Linked DNA regions of Homo sapiens: all the other regions are linked to region 3. Evidence: promoter capture Hi-C in 16 types of primary human blood cells and fetal thymus (Javierre and others, 2016). All regions are on one chromosome and are shown on one strand. The core of a region is centred on a gene start or on the middle of the fragment in contact, and the rest is flanking DNA. Distances in the headings are between cores, read along the strand shown.

Region 1 (4,458 bases), core at 1,624-4,123, 2.7 Mb after region 3:
AAGCGGACACTCAATGACTTTATAATGATGATGTCTAACATTTCCTGACAAAGTGTGCTTTGTCAAATTGTACAAATTTCTTGTATCACATTTCTCAATGATAGGACTTGGGAATAATCATTGGGAATGATTGCTTTGTCTGTAATTTGTACAAAAAGGCAGAGATTTTCTTTACAAGAATTAAGACAATATTTTCTTAAAAATGCTTGGTGACTTAAATGTAAGTAAATAAATAATGAATAATTTTTTCACAAGTCAATGAGAACCAGCACAATGAGAAAAAAAATCGTCCTGAGTGGTTTACTTTGGTTAGATTTATTACCTAACTCATAAGGTTATATAATATGGAGTAACAAAAATAGGGCAATTTGAAGAAATTTTATTTATAAAGGTACAGGGTACCACACAGACAGTGCAGTAACCTAGAGATAGTAGCCTCTGAGATTTTGTGCCTAGAACTGAAGTTTGCCATTTAGAAAGTTTTTTAGTCTATTTGGGCTGCTATAGTGAAATACCGTACATTGAGTAGCTTATAAACAACAGAAATTGATTTCTCATGGTTCTGGAGGCTGGAAAGTCCACATCGAAGTATCAACAGATTCAGTGTCTGGTAAGGGACTACTTTCTGGTTCACAGATGAAATTGTTTCACTGTGTCCTCACATAGTGGAAGGAGTGAGTGTTCTCTCTCAGGCCTCTATTATTAGGGCACTAATTCCATTCACGAGTGTTCCAACCCTATGACTTCATCGCCACCCAAAAGCCCCACCTCCAAATACCATCACCTTGGGAGTTAAAATTTCAATCTATGAATTTTGGAGGAACAGAAACAATCAGACTATAGCAGAAAGATGTGATCTTCACTTATGGGTATGACCAGCTTTAGGGAACCCCCTAAGGATAGGAGCAGGAGAATGAATACTCTGACTTCACTCTCCTCTAATTCTCTAATCTCCTATTAGTGTTCTTCAGTAGCCAAACCCAATCAGAAACCAGAGGGCACTGGAGCCTGGGTGATATAGTTTATGCTGATCAGCATCCCAGAGCAAATAACAGGACAAAGGGAAGAGTGTACCTATATGAGAGCAAACAGAAAATATATGGCATATTCTGTCTTTTCAGAATCATTTACTATATTGCTAGGCAAATAGGTCACCTTTTTTCCCTCATCCCATTCTCTCTTAAATAGAAAATTAAACCTTAAAACCTGAATAGAAGACAAAAGTCCACAATCAGTGCTCTGTTTCTCACATATTGTGAGCTTTCCTAGAAGGTATTACTCCTATCGCCCAACTCAGCGTCTACATATGCTGATGGCTCAAAAATCCATAGCTATGCCCAGTTCTCTTTCCTGCCCTCTAGATGAGCAGATCCAACAGCATGCTAGTTAGCTCCCCCTGGATGCCTCACAGGCTTGTCAAACCAGTGTATTCAAGAAAGCACCCACCACTTATTGCATAATATCCTGATAGAGTTGCAATGCCAAGGAGCATGTTTTCTGTTCATTTTCTAAAATGATGACAGAAAGTTTAGAAGAGGCTGTTTTAACTGTGATTAGGAGAAGCTTATACTAATTGTTATTATAAAGATCTGAAAAATCCGTGTCATCGTCCATGGTTCATACACCAACACATAGCATGAGACTTTTGCCACTTACGATGTCCTCCACGTTAGTCTTAATTTGCTTTCACCTGAATAATTGCACTAGCTAATACTTATTGAGTACTTCCTATGTGTCAGGTATTCAATTGTCCTCTTAAATTTAAGTCTCGCAATAACCCAATAATGAAGAGGAAATTGAGGCTTGTAGGAGTCGTCATCCACAAGGACTCATAGCTGATAAGGGGTGGTGAGTTTTAGATAGCTTAACTCCAGAACACATATGCTTGTCATTCCTCTGCGATACTGAATACAAATCATTCTTATAGTCCAGGGAGGAGGGGTTAAAAGGTCACGAACTAGGAGCTCTACTGAGTCTGACACTGGAGATGCTAGGAGTAAGGAAAATATAATAAGTCTTGAGGAAGCTGGAGATGAGAGATTATAAAGTAAAAGTAGCTGAAGATACAGGATATAAGATTTTTTTTTTTAAAAATTTCTTTTTCCTTTTAAAAACGTTAGTTAAGCATGCATTGCGCTAGGCATTGGGGATAGAAAAGCAATAAAGACAATTTCAGTCTAGTGAGAAAGATAGGTAAATACATTATAATAAATTTTAAAACTTAGATTTGTATGCAAGGTTCACAGAACATTAGAGAAATTAGACATAGACAGAATTTATTAATTCATTTTATTCATTCAGAAGACATTAGTTGAATACCCACTGCATTATGCTTGAAGCTGGAGAAATAAAAAGGGCAAAGTTAAAATCCTTATCCTGAGGAAACTCACAATCTAATGAAGATGCTTCTGGGGTGCTGGTCAAGTAGCAAGGATGGAGCTACAGGAGCACAGAAGGATTACACAGCCTCGAGTGCTCAGACAATGCCAATTTAGTGTTACCTAAGCAAAAAGTTAGGGCTTTGGGTTGGCAACAGTAGAGGATGCTAAAGAGGAGTGCAGTGGACAGGTCCAAAGGGCTTGGACTTAACTATGACAACCCAAATTGTTGCTGGTGGAATGCAATACAAGGGAATATGCATTTTCCTGCAGCATCAGTTTTGTTATGATGTGGAGCATAAAATCGTGCTTTTCACTATTAAATATTTTTACTATTAAAAATAATGTAGAGCACAAAATCGTGCTTTTTACTATTTAAATGCGGATATACTGTGAAGAATGCAATAGCATATGAGATTCATAAAATACGACAGGAAACGAATTTCCACAGCTAGGCTTATGATTTAGCCAGATAGAACAGGAAACTACAAGAAAATCCCACAGCTGGGCATGCAGATGGCTTCGGCTCTCACCCCTGAAGACTCGGGGGGAGGAGTTCACAGTCTTCAGTTCTCCGAGTATTGAGGGTAAGATAGCTGAGGAACAATGAGTATTAAGTGTGCGAGAAAAGCGTTTAGGAGTTAAGCACATGGACTGAAGAGAGGCTAGGGCGCAGGCGACTGGGAACCCGTCATCGTCCCTCTGCTCTCCGGACCTCTTATTCGAAAAACATCCTCCACCACGTGCCCCTTTGTCGCCAGAGACAGCGCCTGCAGTGCGTGAGCTGCCCCCTGAACTCCTGGCGCCTGGTTGCCTGGGCAACCCTCTTCTGGGGCGCCTCCGCGACCTCTTACCATTGGTTTAGACGACGCAGCGTGCGTCTGACGTCATTGCGCGGCGCGACCAGGTTCAGGGGCGGGCCGCGCGGAGCCTCATTTCCCCAAACGCAGGCGCTCGGTGGCGGTAGCCGCGGTTGTTGGCCGACCGAGTGCCGGTCATAAGCCCCCCCCGGTGGGGGGCAGCTGGTGTGCGGATCGCGGCGGGAGAGAGGCGCGGTAGGAACGGGTCCCCGGAGCCGTGAACCGCGGGTACAGGTGTCCTGTCTGCGCTCTCTGCCAAGCCGGCTTGCTTCCTGATCTGTTGCTAGGGCCGCTGGACCCCGTTGCTAAGGACCCTTGAGATCGTGAGCGCTTGGAGTGTACCCCTCCTTTCCTGGGGTAGAGGGTCAGTCGAGAGTAGCCTTCGTTAACCTTAATTGAAACTGGTAAACTCCTCCCTCGGCCCCTTTAAAAAATCTCTGTTTTTTCTTTATTTTTTTTCTGTGTCTTCCTCTTTTGCTGACTTTGATAGCATCCTGGCTCTGGACTGGTCTTTAAGTATCTAGAAGTGAGTGTAGGAGGGGTGGCTGGGAAGGTGGAAAATAGATTCTAAGACCCCTAAGCAGATTGTGCGACCCTAATACTGGCCCTTTGAATTTACTTTCTGGTAAAAAAGGGACTGGGATAAGTGACTATTGGGCTCTGGGTCTTTTAGAATTTGACAGAGCTTTACAAATGGAACATGGTTTCTTTAGTGGGGCTCTTACTTACACGTTTGGAACTTTCTAGACCTGGATTAGAAAGCAGGGCTCTGCTGACTGAGAATTGTTTTAGTTCAGTGGTCTTAAAGCTGAGTACGGGAGAAAGTACATACAGGGAAAGAAATAGGCTATATCAGCTGCCCAAACAATGATAGAAAGTACACTTTCCTACCATTGACACAGATACCGGCAGTCCCTTGTAGATAGATGACCTGTAGCAACCAAGGAAGCTTTAAGGGGAATGTGTGGGCTTCATAGGGTGGTTTGTTTGCTTTCTGATATTGTGACATAGTTTAGGTGTTCGAAGTTAAGTGGATTTATGGATTCTAATATCTATAATTAGAATGTTTATCTTGTTTTGTAAAAGAATGAGCGGTGACCTTGATAATATTTGTAACACAAAATAGTTCTTACAGGTTCGCTTCTCCCCATCACTGCCCCTTTACACCATCCTCTACATGTTATTTAATGAAAAACCACTTGAAAGGGTTACCAAGGATA
Region 2 (4,161 bases), core at 880-3,379, 2.3 Mb before region 3:
AATCCTAGCTGGGTCCCTGGAGGACGAGAAAACCGGTCAGGAGTCTCCTGGGAAGAGGGTCATGTTTTAATCTAGCTAAAGCTGGTACCTGGCAGTTTCCACTCTTAAGGCCTAGTGTACTAACTAATGTGTGCGCAATGTCAAAACAGGAAACAAAGGGAAATGCAAGAGGTGGAAGGTAATTTTAAGTTAGTGGCAGTATGACAGATTTCCAGTGCCTTCAGGAAGGTATCCAGCCTTAAAGATGCTTTTTTTAAATAGACGATTTTAGACAGAAAAAAGGTAGAAACAAAACTATAACACATGTGTACTCACCACTGAATTGGAGAAATAAATGATTATATAAGTGATTGAAGTCCTTTGTCAGCTCTACCCCGTCTCATTCTCTTTCCTTTTGCCTAAGGAAACCACTCTCCTAACCACCTTTATGCAATCTGTAATGTGTACATCTTTTTGCAGCTAGCTTGTTTTACATAATGTTTTTGAGATTTGTCAGTGTTGTGTAACTCCACCTTATTCATCTTAATAGCTGAACAGATATTCTGTTATTTTAATATGTCACTGTTCATTGTTTAGTATCTCCAGTGCCTGACATACTTTAGGCACTGTAGGTAGCTAAATGTTAGTTGAATGCATGGCTGCTGTAGCATTTGAACTAAGTAGAAAAGAATAAATAGGACTTCATGTGACCCAACAAGAGTATTCCAGGCAAAAGGAATACTAGCCAAAAGCAGAGACATGAAAGTGCATGAACTATTTCAAGAATTTCCATACTTTTAGTACTGAAATGTAGAATGTATGGAGATCATGTGATGAAGGAGAAACCTGGAAAGATGAGGCTTAAGCTTAAAGGATATTATCCTGAAGAGCTTACACAAGCTCGGCGCCATTAAATGCTTTTCCAGTTATGAGGAAGCTGATTAGAGCTGTATTTTCAGAAGATGATACAGCGCACTAGAGATATATCTTAGGATATAAAAGATTAGTGACGGGGAATTTTAGACTATCAAGCATTGTAACAATAACAATCATTGCATTAAGCAAGTAAGACAACCAGCCAGACTAAAAATCCAAAAACATTTTCCTAGTCCATCATATTATCACATTCCTTAACAATTATTAATATTTCATATTTTCTTCTGACAAACTTGCAACATTTTCTACTTCGGCCTCTTACTTAGATGATACCTCACATCCTATTGAGTTAAAAAAAAACTTCCCCATGCTTTCATCACCACATCTACCAGACCTGTTCCCTAATATACTGCCACTGCTGTTACTATAGATGAACTGTCTGATTTAGGAGGGAGAGTAAACCCTTTAAAAATATCTTTTTAATACAATAGTAACTGAACTAGTGTTACAAACTTTCAAGGGGGGATTGAAACGTGAATAGTAAGAATATGAAAGAATGGAATAGTTAAAAGACAATTGCTTCTAAGAGATAAATGATCCATATATAGTAATATAAAAATAAGATACTTTTTTAATGTATATTTCTTTTTTTCAGGTAGATTTAGGTTCTAAGCTTTAAAAGCTAAATCTAAATTTACATGTATGTTTTTATAGGATCATTGTTTCTACTATTTCTTAACATAAGCAGTTTATTATGAAGTAGAATCTTTAACAATCCTGTTTTAAATAATATGTTTTATTAGCCTTCGTCTTACATATTTCCCAGTTGTCCAAATATAGTTGGATAACTTATTTGTTACTGACTGTGATAAAAATAGAGTGTACATTGTACAGTTTACTACAGGTGTCATTAATTTTCTCATTCTCTCATATGCATTGAGTAACTACCATACAGCAAGCACTATTCTAGGAACAGGTAGATAAGATTTATTAGTGGAAAATCACTTACCTAAAACCATATCATATAACCGTGTTAATGCACCTTGGTGTATGAGAAACTTTCAACTACAAATATTTGATTACCTTAATTGCAATTCTTAAGGGAGGCTAAGTAGATGGATAGCTGAATAAAGTTATTACTTGGAAATGTTGCCATGTAGCCGCAGGAGCCAATTTCAGTGCACACATCTTAAGCATCAGTGTACACATTTATAGGTCTTTGGTGTTTGGGCCAGCAGAACCCACCTGGGTTATGGAATCACACTGGTGTACTTGATCGTGTTCGGGTATGAACATGCTCTGATTTACATTGAGTACTAATTGAGCATGTCTATTTAAATTAAAGTTCCAGAATTTATGTTTAGGCCAGAACCTCAGGTTTGAACTTCTCCCCTAAAATTCCTCTGGCTTCTCATTAAAGCCGCTTTCGGAGATATAAGTAAAGAAAGTCAAACAAAAGACTTTGTAGCATGTTTTGTTTAACATGTTTTGTTTAGCACTGTTTTTCTTGAGCTATATATGATAAATATCTAGGGAGAGGTGGCAGAAGGACAAAATTGTAGTAGTTTGAGGTTTCTTGGGGGAAAGTTGAAGCATTAAAACATGTTAGCATCCTTATATGAACTTTTAACTATGGAAGGAAGAGTCAGTATTCCCTTTCAGGCAGCTGTTTATCTGGCTTAGACTGCCTCAAGGCTGTGTATTGCCCTTCAGCTTTTCTTATGCATTAGAAAGAGATCTAGATGCATTTGCCTTTAGCAGTGTAGTTCTGAATACATTGATGACCACCCACTGTGCTGGGACATGCAAGAGGTATGTACCATAAACTCTTTAGTCCTGCTAATGTCCTCGACAGAGGACATAAAACCTCCTAAGAAAAGCTTTGTCTCTTTCCAGCCAAGGTTAACTATTTGTAACATGTCATCTTTCAAGGAAGCATCTAACCAAGATTAAGTCAAAGGCATCTACCAGGTCCTGAATTCTCTCCCAGATGCACACCTTTTAAGGTACAATCAGGTACCATATGTAATCTGTAGCTATTTAACCATCGTTAAAGCATTTAGGACTTTGATTTCCTAGAAGAAGTCATGGTCTGCAAAATAATTGTATTAAAAGGTATAAAACCTGATCAGGAAAAAGAGGTTTAGGGCCAAACTATACAACTTTGTAACTAGACCAATAACACAAAATAATAGTGTTTTAAAATGTACCCAGGATTTATTTTAATCAGATATGGTAAGATATGCAGATGTGAAAATGATTGTCATGAAAGAAGAAATTTTTATACTCATGGATCCCTAGAAACAGGAAGCATGGCACCTTACACCATGCAAGGGTGCCATACCTAGAAGCAGCAGGGTCAATGGGGAGAGGAAGTACAAGGAAACTGCAGGAAAGCCTTTATTTGGTTTTCTGAGGAAGGAATGGGCAAAACTGGATAAGCAGGCTTGAACAGGTTTAAAATTGGCTAGTTGAAATAATTTTGGCCGACTTCGGGCGTAGGGGATATCCCTAGTTGCCTGGTAGCTGGTCTGGAGTGATTAGGATAGGGCAATATTGGCCAGGAGTATAAGAACCCAAGATGTCTGTGTTGGGAGTTGGGGGATTCTGGATTGGTTAGTTTGCATAGGAATTAGCTAACCCTGGGAGAGGTAGTACCTCTCCAGTCATCAAGGACCCACCTAGATACCAAATGATTAACAATACAAAAATAAGAAAGTACAATTAATACAAACAGTCATAATAAAGATACAGTATTAACACAGTTAAGACGTGGAAATTTTAATAAATAAACACTACAGTAAATGTAGGACTGCACCCCTCCCAAAAAATTTGAGATAATTTGATGGAAAGGTGTGTAAGGAAGGGTTGAAACTACTGTTATGGTCATAAGACTGAAATATACTATGATCCAAGAGAGCAGTGCAGCACTACCAAGGCAGGCATGACCAAGATAGGTGCGGCCAAGCAAAAAGGAAGTATGTATGGTGAATAAGCTATACTCCTTCATGGCTTGCTGTATTCTGTTTTGTTAATATACTTTCCAAGTCCTGATGCCAACTTCTGGGTTTTACTGTCACTATTTTTCTATTTACTAATCTCAGTTGAAGTGGTTTGCCTTACAGAAATAGGCCTAAGCCAATATAAGATAGTGATAAAGAGAGCTATAGACTGTTTGCCTCACCATCTATGATCTTGGATATCATAAAGGCCCCCATAGCTGGCAGTAATACTACTTTGTACTGTGATGCTTTAATGTCTTATCTCTGGTCTTATTCCCAGGTCAAGGATGCATTCCAGGAAAGT
Region 3 (4,030 bases), core at 1,512-4,011:
GGTAATTATCCAAACTCCATTTAATCCCAATTCACACTATAAATAAGTGCTTAACACCTAAGATGCTAAAAAAAGCCCAATCGACAAGTGTATACTCTGTTTAAATGGATGTTATTGTTTATTTTAAAATAACAATGGGATTCGAGACCAGCCTGGCCAACATGGTGAAACCTAGTCTCTACTAAAAATACTAAAATTATCTGGGCGTGGTGGCGGACGCCTGTAATCCCAACTATTCGGGAGGCTCAGGCAGGAGAATCGCTTGAATCCAGGAGGCGGAGGTTGCAGTGAGCTGAGATAGCACCGCTACACTCCAGCCTGGGCGACAGTAAGACTCCATCTCAATAAATAAATAAATAACAAAGAATATGAGACAGGTTTTAATAGGGCTTAATTAGGATGGAGACTGTGGGAAACAATTCTCAAATATAGTTAGAAGCCAGGGACAAAATTTCTTTTCACATACGATACAATGTAATCACATATTGCAATAAAAGTGTAATACAGTAGTAACTTTCAATGTCTTCCAATTTTACTTGAATATACAAGTAGGTAAGGCAAAAAGATATTCTAGTCCCCTTTTCCATCAAATCCAATGAATTGTGTTTCATTTAAAGTTTGACTATTTTTCAAGTCTATCTATTTTTATGATGCAAAGCTATACTTAATGTATCTAAATAAGCAAGAAGACCAGAAAAAAAAACCAACCAAAATATTCCAAAACATAAAAAGACATCCTCAAATCACTTTGTGCCTTGACAAAACTTAACAGTAATATCATAAGCCAGTGTTGCAATGCTGTCATCCTACCTAATTCTACCTAAATGAGCTCAGTAATTTCTAAATTGGTTTCCAGAAGAGATCTTTACATAAGCAATTATCAAAAACAGCCCATTTTGTATTCAAGAAGCACAAACAACAATATTTAGTTTTTTAAACAATTTATATAAAGAATACCTAGAGGTTTTTTTTTACACTTCATAAACTAAAATCACTTACGAATACTTGACTAAAGCTATTTCTCATCATCTTTCCTTAGAGAAGACCAAAATACATTTTTCGTAAGGGCAAAACAAAAGCAGTAAATTACTTAAACATCACTTAAATGCCCCCTAAAGTAACCTTCCTTTCTCATACATTTTCCTATATTCATCGCGTTCTGCGGTACACATTTCTGAACTGAAATTGTATTAAGTTTAACCTAATACGATCTCTTCTCTACTAGTCAAAAAAAGATCTTAAGACGTTAACCAAATACATGGGAGGCGGGGTCGGGGGTGCGAGGTGGTGCCAGAGCAGATGGAAACAAGGTAAGAGAGTTGTTTTCTTAAGACACTAGGGTTACTCCCCAACTCCAAATGCCAAGATTCACTCGCCAGTAGAGCAAGCTGCTGCCACTATCCACTGCTTACACAATACAACCTTCCTTTCTACCTCTTCCCCTACACTCCCACCCATAACCCCCTTCCAAAACAAACACCCACAACGCGCCCCATTCCATAATCCGTGTTCGCCCCTCTAAGCCCACTAAACCAACCTGCTGGATAACAGCTCTATGCATTCGTCTTAGGCAAAAAAAGAAAAAAAAAAAAGCGACTGCAGCAAGGTCGGGAGTCCCACCATTCCTGTCACCCTAAACAATCCACAGGGTGAGAGCCCCAAGCCCAGAAGTTTGAGGCAAAACGATTCAGATCCAACCAAAAAGAGGGAATTGCAGTTGAATGGGGATGGGAGGTGGGGAGGGCGATGCGTATGCGTGTATATGTGTGTGTGTGTGTAAGGAAGAGTCCATCACATGACAGTGAAAGAGGACCAGAGTCGTCGGGGCGTCCGCAAGCAGACGGGGGGGAGGGTGTCGTTGCCGTGGCAACACCCCCCATCCGTCCAGACTTCCAAAGAGGGAGGAAGAACTTCAAATCCCAACCGTCAGCGCTCAAGCGGCTCCTTCTTAAAGGGGTACACACAGCGCCGCCGCCGAGCGCGAGAGGGCAGAGTTGGGCGCCCCCCGCCCCTCGGACGACGCCCCCGCCGCCCCTCGCCCCCAGCCGGCCCATCAGCGGCCCCCGCCCTGCGAGTGCCCGTGGGTCTCCAGGTCCAGGTCCCCGGGAACTGGCCGCGTCTGCTCACCCGGCCCCCGGCGGCGACAAGGGGGTGTGTGTGCGCTCGGCGGGGGCGCGGACCAGCCCGCCTTCCTCCGGCCGCCCTGCCCGCCGGCTCTCCTCCGCCAGGGCGCCGACCCACCGGGCCGCTTCCTCCGTCCTGTCAGGGTGGACGGCGGGCGACGGCGGGCAGCGACGGGCGCCGAGGAGTTTCGGGGAGAGAGCGAGCGGGCGGCTTCCGCGGGGGCTCAGCAAGCGGGTCCAAACTAACAGTTCCCGGGGAGCCCAAGAGCTGGGAAGGCGAAGGAGCGCGGACCGCGCCGGGCCAGCAGCCCGCAAGACAAAAGGCGAGCGCCGGGGCCGCCGCGCCGCGCCGCTCCCATCTCGCTCCCCCACCGAACTAACCCGAACGGGAGATTCAACTAAACCCCTCAGCCACAAACTCCTCGGGCTGCGACAGCGGTCGCCGCGCGGAGCCCGGGGCCCCGGCCCGCGTCTCTCTTACCTACACAGTGCATGAGGCGGTGGCGCCAAGAGTCGAGTTCCCGCCGGAATCCTCTTCTCTCCGCCGCGCACCGAGGGCTCCGGCACTGAGCGGCGGCGGCGGCGGCGGCAGCAGCGGCGGCGGCAGCGGCCATTCTCTCTCTTCCCTTGTCCATCTGCGTCCCGCGTCACGCGCCCTCATTTACATACGAGCAGCGCAGGCACGAGGCAGGGGCGCGAGCCCTCGGCGCGAGCCCCGGAGCGCGCGCCCCCCGGAGGGGGGTTGATTGACACGTGTCACTACCTTCCCTCTGCCCTGCCCTCCCCCTCCCACCGCTCCCTCAGGGAGAGGCGGGGAGGGAGCCAGAGGAGAAGGAAGCAACCTGCCGCTTCCGCTGACCCCGCCTCCCCACCCACTACCCTCCTCCCCCTCCCGCTGGAGTTTACTCAGGCGAGCCATACCGCTCCCGCCGCCCGCGAAAACCCTGAGCGGGAGCGAGAGACCCGGAGCCCAGCCAGGAACCGGCGTGCTAGTGGAGCGGACTAGCAACGCCTACTTTCTGCCTTCACTACGGGACTCCGACAGTCCGGAGACTTCACTTCCCAGGCTCCATTTCGCCAGGATCCCGAAGCTGAACTTGGCGCCGTGGCGCGTTGCTTGCCGGTCATTGTAGTCCAGAAGAAAGGATTTTTTTTGTTTGTTTGTTTTTCTTCCCCCCCGCACTTGGGTATGCAGGCTGGCCTGCAACTTCTCTGCGCCGCGCCGCTGGGGGGCTGAGTCTGTCGCTCCCTGCGCCCGGAACCATGCGCTGCCCGGTGGCCGGGTCTGACCCGACTGCTTTAGCTTCCTTAGGCTCCGCGATAGAAGGGTGGTGGAAGCCGCAAGAGTTGTCGGCTCCTTGTGGGTTCAGGCTGCGCTTTGCGTTTTAAGTGCTGGAAACTTTCCGGGGTCGCTGTCTTCCTGTCACTCCGCAGGGAAAGGGCAAGCCGGTCATTCGGCTACATCTGGAATAACTGCCAAACGTCCAGAGAGAGATCCCGGAGTGACTTCGGTATTCAAGGCGAAGAGATCTCGGAAAGCCAGAATATTTGCAAGGACTAGGAAAAAGATGCGGGTTTTTTTCACTGAAAATTACTTGCAGGGGACTGGGTGTAGCCGGCTGAAAACTGCAGAAGGAAAATTTTCTTTATAAGCTCCTGGAGGGCAGCGACCCACTGAGATCTCTGTACCGTGACATCTGTCACTCGCTAGACCCTAGTACAGTGCGTGACACGGGATTAAGCACTTTACAAAGGTTAATGGAATGAATTCTACCACGTGCTAGAGAAAATAACTTCTTCAGAGAGAGCTAGAGAGGAATCTTACGTTTAAATACAGACTCCAATCACAGTTTTTACTTTTGCACCAGAGCGATTGTGCGTTTGTTTCCGTATAAGTGCAGTTTATC

Evidence for each region. The method cuts DNA at HindIII sites, captures the fragments that hold promoters and counts their contacts. A CHiCAGO score of 5 or more calls a contact.
Region 1: a contact is called between a fragment that was not itself captured here and the fragment with the promoter of LCORL in region 3, in 8 of 17 cell types (naive CD8 T cells, non-activated CD4 T cells, total CD4 T cells and 5 more). The highest score is 17.1, in naive CD8 T cells.
Region 2: a fragment that was not itself captured here is called in contact with the fragment with the promoter of LCORL in region 3 in 1 of 17 cell types (naive CD8 T cells); the score reaches 5.2 in naive CD8 T cells.

Annotation. Positions count from the first base shown.
Region 1 is chr4:20,697,146-20,701,603 of GRCh38, forward strand. PACRGL (parkin coregulated like) reads left to right here and starts at 3,313. Exons shown (of 9, transcript NM_001258345.3): 1 at 3,313-3,642. RefSeq lists an enhancer at 3,426-3,545. The HindIII fragment of the contact is 2,624 bases long and covers 1,562-4,185 here.
Region 2 is chr4:15,682,099-15,686,259 of GRCh38, forward strand. FAM200B (family with sequence similarity 200 member B) reads left to right here. Exons shown (of 2, transcript NM_001145191.2): 2 at 4,138-4,161. Among named protein-coding and RNA genes, the nearest start is that of FAM200B, 2.4 kb to the left of the region's middle. The HindIII fragment of the contact is 1,207 bases long and covers 1,527-2,733 here.
Region 3 is chr4:18,018,994-18,023,023 of GRCh38, forward strand. It overlaps LCORL (ligand dependent nuclear receptor corepressor like), which reads right to left and starts at 2,762. Exons shown (of 8, transcript NM_001394446.1): 1 at 2,605-2,762. The coding sequence starts at 2,758. RefSeq lists silencers at 1,974-2,303, 2,624-3,083 and an enhancer at 3,134-3,393. The HindIII fragment of the contact is 12,000 bases long and covers 1-4,030 here.